Regions from separate parts of the Homo sapiens genome. Here region 2 is linked to region 1. Evidence: promoter capture Hi-C in 16 types of primary human blood cells and fetal thymus (Javierre and others, 2016). All regions are on one chromosome and are shown on one strand. Each heading gives the region's core, a stretch centred on a gene start or on the middle of the fragment in contact. The rest is flanking DNA. Distances are from core to core; before and after follow the strand shown. Region 1 holds the start of CPED1 (cadherin like and PC-esterase domain containing 1). Region 2 has its middle 160 kb from the start of FAM3C.

What was found. The method cuts DNA at HindIII sites, captures the fragments that hold promoters and counts their contacts. A CHiCAGO score of 5 or more calls a contact.
Region 2: a fragment that was not itself captured here is called in contact with the fragment with the promoter of CPED1 in region 1 in 1 of 17 cell types (total B cells); the score reaches 7.9 in total B cells.

The regions. Positions count from the first base shown.
Region 1 is chr7:120,985,360-120,990,846 of GRCh38, forward strand. CPED1 (cadherin like and PC-esterase domain containing 1) reads left to right here and starts at 3,352. Exons shown (of 23, transcript NM_024913.5): 1 at 3,352-3,553; 2 at 4,032-4,511. The coding sequence starts at 4,263. RefSeq lists an enhancer at 2,528-2,607. The HindIII fragment of the contact is 5,089 bases long and covers 1-4,525 here.
Region 2 is chr7:121,558,249-121,563,735 of GRCh38, forward strand. No RefSeq gene overlaps it. Among named protein-coding and RNA genes, the nearest start is that of FAM3C, 160 kb to the left of the region's middle. The HindIII fragment of the contact is 1,990 bases long and covers 1,104-3,093 here.

The DNA.
Region 1 (5,487 bases), core at 2,102-4,601:
ACTGCTAGTAACTACAGCTGGATTTTACCTTATCATAGTCAGATAATATCTTGAAAGGGAAAGGCTGTTCCCTGCAGGAAAGCAACAGAGCCCAGAATCTGAAGACAGAGAGGAAATCCATGTCAAAATGTATCCCTAAAAGCATACATTTTCGTAGCCTAGGGTGACCTTTGAGGTCATCAGTTGATCCCTGAAACTCCTGTTTTATGAGAAAGATGGGACTCAGAGGGATAGAGAGATATATTACTTCCCCAAAGTTCCTAATCCAACACTGGAATTTTATGTTAAGAATATTTTTATTCCCTTAGTTAAAAAAAATTTAAAAAAAATACCTTCTTCAAACAATTATTTGAGTGCATACTTTCCTCTTACACCTACTCCATACCAAAGACCAAATGAAATGTGTGGGAAGGGAGCGTATATTTTGTGTTGGAGAGGTTTGGGGAGAAAGATTGTTCTGTTTTGTCCAAGCTCGAAATGATAGGATCCTGAAAGGCCTGTTAATCTATTGTCCCAGATTAATCTGCTTAAATACAGGCCCTTGAATACTGAAATTATTTAGTGTAAAGTGTACTTTATGAAATTATATGCACAAAAGCATTTAGTCTGAAATACTGCCAGAATCTACAGCCTCGTATTTCTCGTGAATATTTACCCTCTAACCCCATCCCTAAATTAACTTGTTCTCTGTCTTTATTATTCCCTATTTTTTTGTTTGTTTGTTTGTTTTGTTTTGTTGTTTTTGAGACATGGTCTCACTCTGTTGTCCAGGCCAGAGTACAGTGGCACAATCATGGCTCACTGTAGCCTTGACCTCCCTGGGCTCAGGTGATCCTCCTACCTCAGCCTCTTGAGTAGCTAGGACCACAGGCACACACCAACAGGCTTGGCTAATTTTTTGCAGAGATGGAGTTTCGCCATGTTGTCCAGGCTGGTCTGAGACTCCTGGGCTCAAGTGATCCTCCCGCCTTGGCCTCCCAAAGTGCTGGGATTACAGGTGAGCGACATCGCAACCGGCCTCATTCACTCTTCTGACTCCTTCAAGCTCTGTCATTCCATTCGAATGTGTGTAACCTACTGCTCAGGTGTAAATACCTCTCAGGTAGAGTCTCCACATGCTGCTTTCATGCCACCCTTGCCCTTGTCCTCCCAAACCAGCATCTGCTGGTGGGTGCACTTCTATCTCAAAGAGGGAAAGGAAGAGAACTAAGAGCTCATGTTTGCTTTTGGTGTCTAGATGTTCCACGGGACTCATTATTTGATAATTATCTTTTTACGTGTCTGACACCACATCTCCCATAAACTCAGTGAGGAAGGAGCACAGCCTCAGGATTCAAACCTTAACATACATGCATTCAGCATTCATTTATCCAGCAAATACAGAATGCTTAGTTGCTTTCCATATATTATCTCAACTAGTTGTACCAACAACACTTCAAAGGAAACATTAGTATCCTTATATCACGAATGAGGAAAGCTGAGACTTTGGTCAAACCACTTGTTTAAGAACAGCTGATAAAAGGCAGTGCCATGAATCATATCCAGATTGGGTTTACTCTAAAATCAGATGCTTGTGTATCGCCTTAGTCTATTTGGTGATAATTCCTGCTATATCTCCTTTCCACCTCTTGTTTGCACCTTCTCAAGCTACCTCTTTTCTCTCTCTTGCAAATATTTCCTTACTGCTTTCTTCCACTCCCTTGGACTCAGTGGTTAAAATGGGAAATGGGGTTCTTTAATCTACTAGAATCATTTCTGGGATACTAATTTTCCACCTTCTTCCCAATTCCCATTATTTGAAGTCTAGCTATATTATCTTAAAATTTTCAATACTGTTGTCTTTCATTTCTCCCAACCGAATGGCAATTTTATTTTAGCATCTGATTTACTTTCTTCTGTACCTTGTTCTCAACAATTTAATAAAGCATAAGAATGACTCTTTAGATTCCCCAAACTCTGTTTTTCAGACTTCTTGCCTTAACAGAACTTAATAGAACTGTCTGCCTATTCCTTATCACTCAGTAACAGCATTGTCACACCCTGGATTCCAATTTAGAAATCTCACAATTCTTATTATCTCTCAAATCACATTGCATCCACCAAAACGATATGTCCTACAACACCACTGTTCAGCCATTTTCTCTTAAAACTCTTTTGGCTTCTAAAAGTGAAGCATCACTTTATTTTTCTCTATCCCATTTGTCATAAGATTAAGGACTCTGAACCTATACATAAAATAATATTAAAGCCACTGGAGGCGATACATGCAAGGGCTTGGGATAAATCCAGCTTCCGTGTGAATATTTCTTCTGTAATGTGTTAATTAATTTGTTCTATAGGATGTTAAAAGGGTTTCTTTCTCACAAGCAAGGAACTCTAGATGCCCATTTCTCTGAATCTGTGCTAGCTGGGCACCCCTAGGGGGCGCTCCGTCTCTCAAAATACAAGGGGCTGACAGCAGCGTGCCTCTGGGTGAGGCTCACTCTAGGGGTGTGGCCTCACGGAGAACCTCAACCCACAAGAGTTTGGCTTAGAAACAAGTTTGAAAACCTCTTCAGGTCCAGAGCCTTTAAATAATGCCTGCTATGCGCTAAGACAGCCCTGGGTATCCAGAGTTCACAAAGCAAGGACTGATTTCCTTTCGCCTTGACAGCCTCAGCAAAAGTGGAAGGGGGTTTGCAGAATTGCACTATTAGCAGCGTCCACCCGAAGGTCTGCACAGAATTAGACTGAGCTGATTCTGGACAAAGCCCACTGTGTACCTTTATCTACTGGGCAAAAGTTACCCCCAACACCTGCTATAATCGACTCATTTTAGGAGCAAAATGTCAGGCCATGAAGCATCAGATCATTGAAAGACCCAATTAATTAGTCCAGGAAAGGAGTAATAAGAACATCTGTGATCTGAGTTCCATACTAAGACACAGAGAGACGACTGAGTTATTCTGGTGCTTGCTGTCTGAGGTCCAGACAGTACTTGTGACCCTCTTATCCTCAGAAGAGTAACCACAATTCCCTGGAGTGAAGAATATCCCAATTCACTCATGGAGTTCACTTTAGTCTCATTCTCGACCTTTGTCACCAATTGGCTAAGGCTATTTGTTTTTCCAATTCTGTATTAGGAAAAAGAAGTTGCACAGAGGATCAGACATCAGATACGTTTCTAAATTCTGCAGCTCTGGGTGGGCAGCCTCATTTGGGGAAATGCTAGCTGCTGTTTCCAAAGTGGGGAAGCCCACGGTTTCGGACACAGGGCTGACAGCGCTGCTCCAGCAGCCCCCAGGGCCAGAGGAACCCGGCCTTAGCTCCGCCCCGCTCTGCCCGGCCCCGGGTGGCTGCGATGCCGAGGTCCTCTGCTCCCGCCGGGCGTGCAGCGGGCGCGCGCGCGTGTGTTTATGTGTCTGTGTGCGTGTGTGTGTGTGTCTCTCTCTGTGTGTGTGTGAGATGAATTGGAGTCATACGACTGGGTGTTTCCTTCCGAGTGGTTTTCATCAGCAATCCATTAGGAAATCATGGAAACTTTTTTTTTCCTGGCTAAAAGGATGAAAACTGAGTAAGTACATAGAACTTTGAACTTGAGACGGAATGAAACAAATTCAAGCAAAAACCCTGACAGTAACCATGTCCATTCAAATTGCGTATGCCCTTTTTATGTTAAAAGCCGTGAATACTTACAGGACAGTGGGAATTTAAAACTAAATGAAGGGAAGCATACAAAAGGCTGAAAGCAAGACTGCTTTAAAACCGGAGGAAAATTGAGGAACTGCTAAGGCAACCTGGCCTGAGTTCAGCTGTGCAACAGGCACTTTGGGTTTTAATCTTTTGCGTTCTTCAATGCTGTTTTCAGACTCCAGATATACTTTGGTATTGTTTTCTCTCTTCCTGCAAAGCTGAGGCAGAGTCGGACTCCTTTACTGTGAGTTGAAAGATGTGAGAATAAGGCATTGCTGGAAGCAACAGTTTGGCAGCCTGGGGTACACTCAGGTTATTCGTTACAACTATTATTATTTGATGTCTTTTTTTAAACTCAGGTCATCCACTTTTGACTGTCATCCATGGAAGAGCTCTTATTAAAAGCCTCAGACTTTCGGGACCTATGATTCTTTGGCACAACCTTTTGGAAAATTCTTAAGCAGGGATGAAGCAAACTTGATTGGAGTTGGGGAAAAAGAAGACAGATTAGTATTTTTCATGCTGACAAAAAATAGCTGCTATGACTTTTCCCGCAACGTGGACAGGGGCCAAGTGAAGCTGAACTGGTCATGGTCTGTCGCCCAGTGTTCCCTTGTCGTCGGCGATTTTGCCCCCGACCCTTCTTGGTGGGCTTAGTGGTGGCAATCTGTCTCTTCTACCAGACTCTGACCCTCCGAGGGTCGAGGAAGCTCACAGCCGCTGCCCCTGGGGCTGTCCCACACACATCCACTGAAACCCAGGCAAGCAGATGCAAGAAAGGATTCTCTCAGGACAAACAGTGCTTCCTTCTCTCTGGTAATGCCCAGGAAACCAGAAAGGTAAGACTCTCATAAGCTTAACGGAGACAGTTTCTGCAAAGACAGCAATCTGCTTCTCTGTCCTTTCTATAAAACTAAAATTAACTTCCATGAGGTCTGAAAGGGATCCAGAGTGTAAACAGCCTAGAGAGTGACCTGATGACTGGGAAACACGTTACATAAGCTTCAACTTCTTATAGTTACTTCCAGAAAGTTCTGGCATTACTTTATCTCTTAGGATTTCACTTCATTTCAGTGGAATGAAGTAGACAGTTTGGAGGAGGCATAAAATGATGTGGATTCTTTCTAAAATATCAGTATTCTAAGAGATCTGAGGATTTACAATTCAAAAACATAAATCAAAGTTTCAAAAACTTTGATAAACCTTGAGTGTCTCTTTTCTCAAGGCAGTCAGTATGAGTGCCCAGACCATTCCAGACTCAAAGATTCTCCAAAGTTTCATTTTGTAACTAGCTAGATTGATTCTTAATTGGTGACCACATTTCTAAAGCAATATATTTACTTCGAAAGCATTAAAATAATAGGATAATAGGTTTCTTCAAAAGAATTGATACAATGTATTTTATTGTTTATAGGATCAGGGAAATACAGATTATTCTATATTTATACTATTCAGATAAACTTACTAATCTTACTTGTCAAATATTGAAAAAAAACACAAAAAGCACACAAAGTAACACAGGATTTCTATTTTAATATACCACTCTCCTCATGCCTATCAGTAATATAATGACCTGTAACATAGTCAAGTGTAAAACAGAACATGAAGAAATAAAAAAAAATCCATGCAAAAAAGATCATGGTGGCAAAGCTACTAAATTTTATGTTACAACAAGTAGTATTGTAGCAACAAAATAGAGGGCTCTGTAAGTAGCATCTTATATCTACAGTAGATTCTGGTCGATCTTATGATGCCGGTTACCGTTTGAAGTAGAATTTCTACTTGAACACCAGCTCCGTTGCTACCATTATTACC
Region 2 (5,487 bases), core at 849-3,348, 570 kb after region 1:
CAATTGCATTAAAATAATCAGGGATAGATTTGGTGGACCTTCACATTGTATTTAGAATTTCTGCTGTCCAATGTATGGAGTTCTTACTTAAACTTGCACTTCAATCTAGAAGATGATCAGCTATTCATCTTTTCCCATCTCTTTTCAGACAAAACACAATTATCCCCTTTCTTTCAGGCACAGCATGAAAGACACTCTCAGATAAATGCACTGAATGTGAGTGACAAGGGATAGATTAGCTCCAGTGTAGAGCGGGATGGAAAAATACTTGAAGCTTCTGCCTCTGCTGGCCACGTGGCATATAAGCCCATGTTCCATAGCTTTGTATTAGCCTTTGAGATTCACAAACCTGCAGTCACCAATCTGCTGCATCACTGGGAAACACTGGAAACTATAAGTTAGATGTGCATGAAGTAATTTGGAGAAATAAGAGTCTGAACAGTTATTCTGAATAATGCATCAAAGTGGGCCGAATGTTATTGCTACAGTGGTTTAGTTATTTATTATATAGGGTATAATAAGTAGTATTCCCTTAGGGATCACATTTTTTGGTTAGTCTTTTGTTTTTTTCTTTTGCAACAAACTTTTTTGACATCAATGAGCTTAAAACAAAACAAAAAAACAAACAAAAATCCAAAGTCTATATTTAATGGGAAATTAAGCACCTAAACATTCATTTCCTAATAAATGCAATGATGCACATAATAAGATTGTGCAAGCTTTGAGGATGTTTACCATCCAACTATGAAAGCTGTAGTAACATCACGGACCGTGTGAACATCCAAAAATAAAAATATTCTTAAGATGCTTGAGCATTCCCTTCAGAAGTTGGTAGTAGGTAGTCATGTTAGGAAGGTTGTACATAATATTTCATTAAATTAAACAAGTCTTCTTTGAATTAACTTCACTCTTTTCTGATTTCCATTTTTTACATGTACAAAAAGTGAAGCAATAGTTATTAACGTGTTGGTTTGGTTAGAATTTCACAAACAGTTAAAGAAAGTCTAACTTTTGGCAGTGACACCAGATGCTTCACATAGAAAGTCAGATACATTAATTCCAATGGTTCAATTTTTAAAATTCAACTCATGGAACCAGCGAAAAGCTTCTGAAATTTAATTTAACTGAAAGTGAAATATCTGACACTACAGATGCTCCTTGTCTTACTATGGGATCACCTCTCCATAAGCTCATCATGAATTGAAAATATCAGAAGCTGAAAATGCATTTAATATAACCAACCTACCAAACATCATAGCTTAACCTAGTCTACCTTAAATGCGCTCAGGAACTTTCCATTAGCCTACAGTTGGGCAAATTCATCTCACACAAAGTCTATTTTATAATAAAGTGCTTAATATCTTATGTAATTTGTTGAATACCATACTGAAAGTGAAAAATAGAACAGTTGTATGAGCACTAAAAGTACAATTTCTACTAAATGCATATTGATTTCACATTGTTGTAAAGTTGAAAAGCATTAAGTCCAACCACTGTAAGTTGGGGAACATCCTTATTATGATTGGTACTATACATTAAATTAAATGTTCAATATTGAAGAAAAAGTTTTATGTTTTGATGAGACAACGTGAATAAAATGTTTATGGAAAACAGGGCCATAGTAAACACAATGCTATAATTAAATTATTTATGGAGCAAATATACTTGGAATTGTCATGCACATTCAACTTGTCATTATATCTAAATAAACATCTGTATTGTATTAATCAAAACCTATGGTTGCTGAAATTTATCTATGTGTTTTTACATATACACAACTGAGTAACTGAAGTATAAACTTTTTTGTGACAAGTTAAAAAATAAGTTACTATGGTGGCACATGCTTTTTTCTTTGCTGCCTATTAACCTAATAAATTTCCTTTAGTATTTTATAGTGGTATTGAACTTTGAAAAGTGAGTCCTCTTTTTTTTGCGTTTTATTCAAAATCAGTTGGAAATGTTTAAATGAATTATTTAATGGAGTACCAACAATCTCTTGACATTTTTAATGTCAAAGTGTCAACAATCTTTGACATTTTTAGATAATTGCAATTATAGTCAAATCCTGCAAACAGAAAGACATGGAAATTTAGTCCTATAAAATAAAAGCAAGGGATAAACTGAACAAAATCAATGAAAAGGCCCCAGATGGTGTACAAATTTTGAAATTCTACTTCATTTTGGAGTAACTTGACTTATGGCAATTTTTTTGGATGCAGCTTCTATTTTTGATCAGCAGTATTCGATCTGCTGTTAATTCCATCCAAGTATATATTTTTTCACTCAGATATTACATTTTCATCTCTAGAAGTTTAATTCAGGTCTTTTTTTTTTTTACATCTTTATGCTCTTCTTTAATGTTCTCATGATTTCCTTTATTTTCTTGAACATATGGAATCTAGTTGTAATAACGGTCTTGATGACCTTGTCTACTAATTCTATATTTGTTTCATTTTTGGATCTGTTTCTATTGATTTAATTTTCCCCATATGGGTCACATTTCCCTTTCATGTCTGTCAGTTTTGTTTGGATGCCATGCAATGTGAATTTTAACGTGCTGGATGCTGGATACTTATACACTCCTGTTCATATTATTGAATCTTGTTCTGAGGCTCAGTTTGTTACTTGAAAACAGTACAATCCTTTTGAAGCCTGCTTTTAAAATTTGCTAGGCAAAGCCTGAGCAGCCTTTAGTCCAGGACTCATTTTTTGTCATATGAATTAAGAGAGGTTTACACTCTGACTACTGGGAAAACACTATTTCAGACTCTACATGAGCTATGAGGATTGTTGCGTTTCATTATTTCTGATATTTTTCTCTCCAGTTTTGGGTAGTTTTCTCACGTGCATGTATTGATTGGTACTTACCTGAAGACTTGAGGGGAACTCTTCCTACTTTTCTGGGCTCTCTCTTTGTAAAGCTCTCTCTGCTCCATACAGCTTTCTCTTCTCTGGTATTCTGCACTGCAAATTCTATTTTCTTGGCCTCTCCGAATTGGCAACTCTGTCTTTCCACTAAGCAAGTCTGCCAGCCTGTGGTTTGGGTCCCCCTTCCCTGGACACTTTTTTTGGGAGTAAGCTAGAACAATCCTAAGCTTACTTCATTTGCTCTATTCTCTCAGGGGATCCCTTTCCTGAGCTGCCTTTTGTCCAATGTATGAAATCTGCTTTGTATATTTTGTCCATTTTAAAATTGCTTAAAGTGAAAGATCAAATGTGTTTGCTATTAATTATCAAATCTAGAAGCAGAAGTCCCTGAAAATGATATGTGAATAGAATCATTACTTATGTCTACAAATAGCATCAAATGATAAATCAGTAAATAAGTATCTCAAATAGTATACAATTTTCATTATTTTTGTGTCTACTTTTATTCACAAAAGTGTCCTAGTTTGGGTGATAAATTATCTGGTAGCTCTAATTCTAGTATTTTAATGATATATGTTAACATTTAGTACTAAAATAATTCATAAAATTCTGGGTTAAGTTTTTTGTTTTAATTCAAATACAATTAAAACATGGCAACACCTTAATTCTCTTTGTATGTGTTGATTAGTGAGCCCAATGATTAAATTTTGAAACAGTACCGTATAATTGTTTCCTATTAAATAAAGCTTTCAAATGCATATGAGGAGTCTGTCAAAAGCCTGGCACTCTGCCAGAATTCAGAGCCACATGGAGTTTTTGAACCTCATGTGCAAGGAATTCAGTTAAATGTATACTACTCAGTTTATCTCATACTTCCAATATATGTCCTTACTTGGCTCTTTTTGTTTTACTTTTCCCCATCTCTTCATCCCCTGTCCCACTTCCCTTCTCCACATGTCTGATATATCATATACTTGTATGTTCTTGAAGTGCATGTTTGCTTTTTTATTTGCATCGATGGCTTTGTACCATAGACTGAATTCTATTTTTTGCATATTTTAACTCCATGTGTTTTAAGATCTATTTATGTTGGTATATGTATATCTCATTCATTGTTTCTAGTTGCTACATAGTATTCCATTGTGTGTATCTACCACATTTTATTATAAGATGCCCTGTAGATAGACGCCACTGTTGCCTCAAACTCTTGACTATGCAAGCAAAATGATGATTATCCTTGCTCACTACCCTTATGGACATACATGTGAGTTTCTCTGCAATATAAATGCAGGAATGATCTTTTTGGATCATAAATTCTCTGAGTACTATCAGGTTACTATTCATGAAATTGTTACCATTCCTGAAATTGTTGCCAGAGTATGTGACCCTTAGCAATGCAGTGGCTCCTCATTTATCCACATAGTTCTCAACATTTGGTGTTTTTGTAGTCTATGTTTTGCCAATCTGAGAAATACAAAATGGTATGTCATCATTTCAGTTTTCATTAATCTGATTACCAGTGGGTTTCAGTCTCTCTGGTTTTCCTTCTTTTTCTAAATGATCTACCTGAGTTTCTATTCATATAGAAATAAAATCTTTTGACTTGTTTAGGCTCTATATTTTCTACTAATCTTGTTCAACCTTAATTTTGATGTAATTGAGTATGCCACCTTTTCACGTTATTGTTTTGATTTTGGGCCTCCTGTTTCAGAAGCCCTTCTGTACTCGTAGGCTTATAAAGATAATCTCTTACATTTTCCTTAATTTCATTTCAGTCTTTACTTTCCCAGTTAGGTCTTTAACTCTTCTGATGTTGACTTTTGAATATCATGCCTTACTCTATTTGATATGGTGGGCTACTTTTTCCATGGAATCCTTATAATGACTTTCACACATTACTAAATTCAAAATATGTGTCATGAATAAGATGATGTTTTAAGCACAATAGCATTTTAAAATAACCAGTGATGATCTATTTCTACACATTGATAACATCTATAAATTTTCAGGTATCGTTCGTGTGTGTTTGCTAGATATTTATGTATTTTATTAGCTGGGATGATCTTGTGAAGCCCAATGACACAAATAGTAGCAGAGAGAAGGTATTTGGCTAATATAGGTCCAAAATATGTCCAAAAACGTCAAAGCTTGTGGATTTATGGTTTATTGCTGGGAAGAGATACAATAGAGCAATGGCATTAAAGTAATCTATATATCCCAGCCAAAGGCTGCTTTCCAAAAAGTGGAGAAGCTGGTTCCAATTGTCCTCCCTCTGCAGGCCTGTGCTAGAATGCACTTTTTCTCTCCAGTCAGGAATGACTGATATGTACATCTAACATCCAGGAACCAGGAGTCTGGGCTGACCTTTTTATATCATACTGGTCACATAGGCATCTTTTTGCAATCTAATCAGTAACAGAGCCTTTAGGGATCTCAATAACAACAGGTGCAAACCATCAATCTCACCATTTACCAAAAACAATGCTGATAAGCTGGTACACCTTAGACCCATGTTTCCTCAGATCCATATTTTCATGCGTGTCCATGTGAAGAGACCACCAAACAGGCTTTGTGTGAGCAATAAAAGCTTTTAATCACCTGGGTACAGGCAGGCTGAGA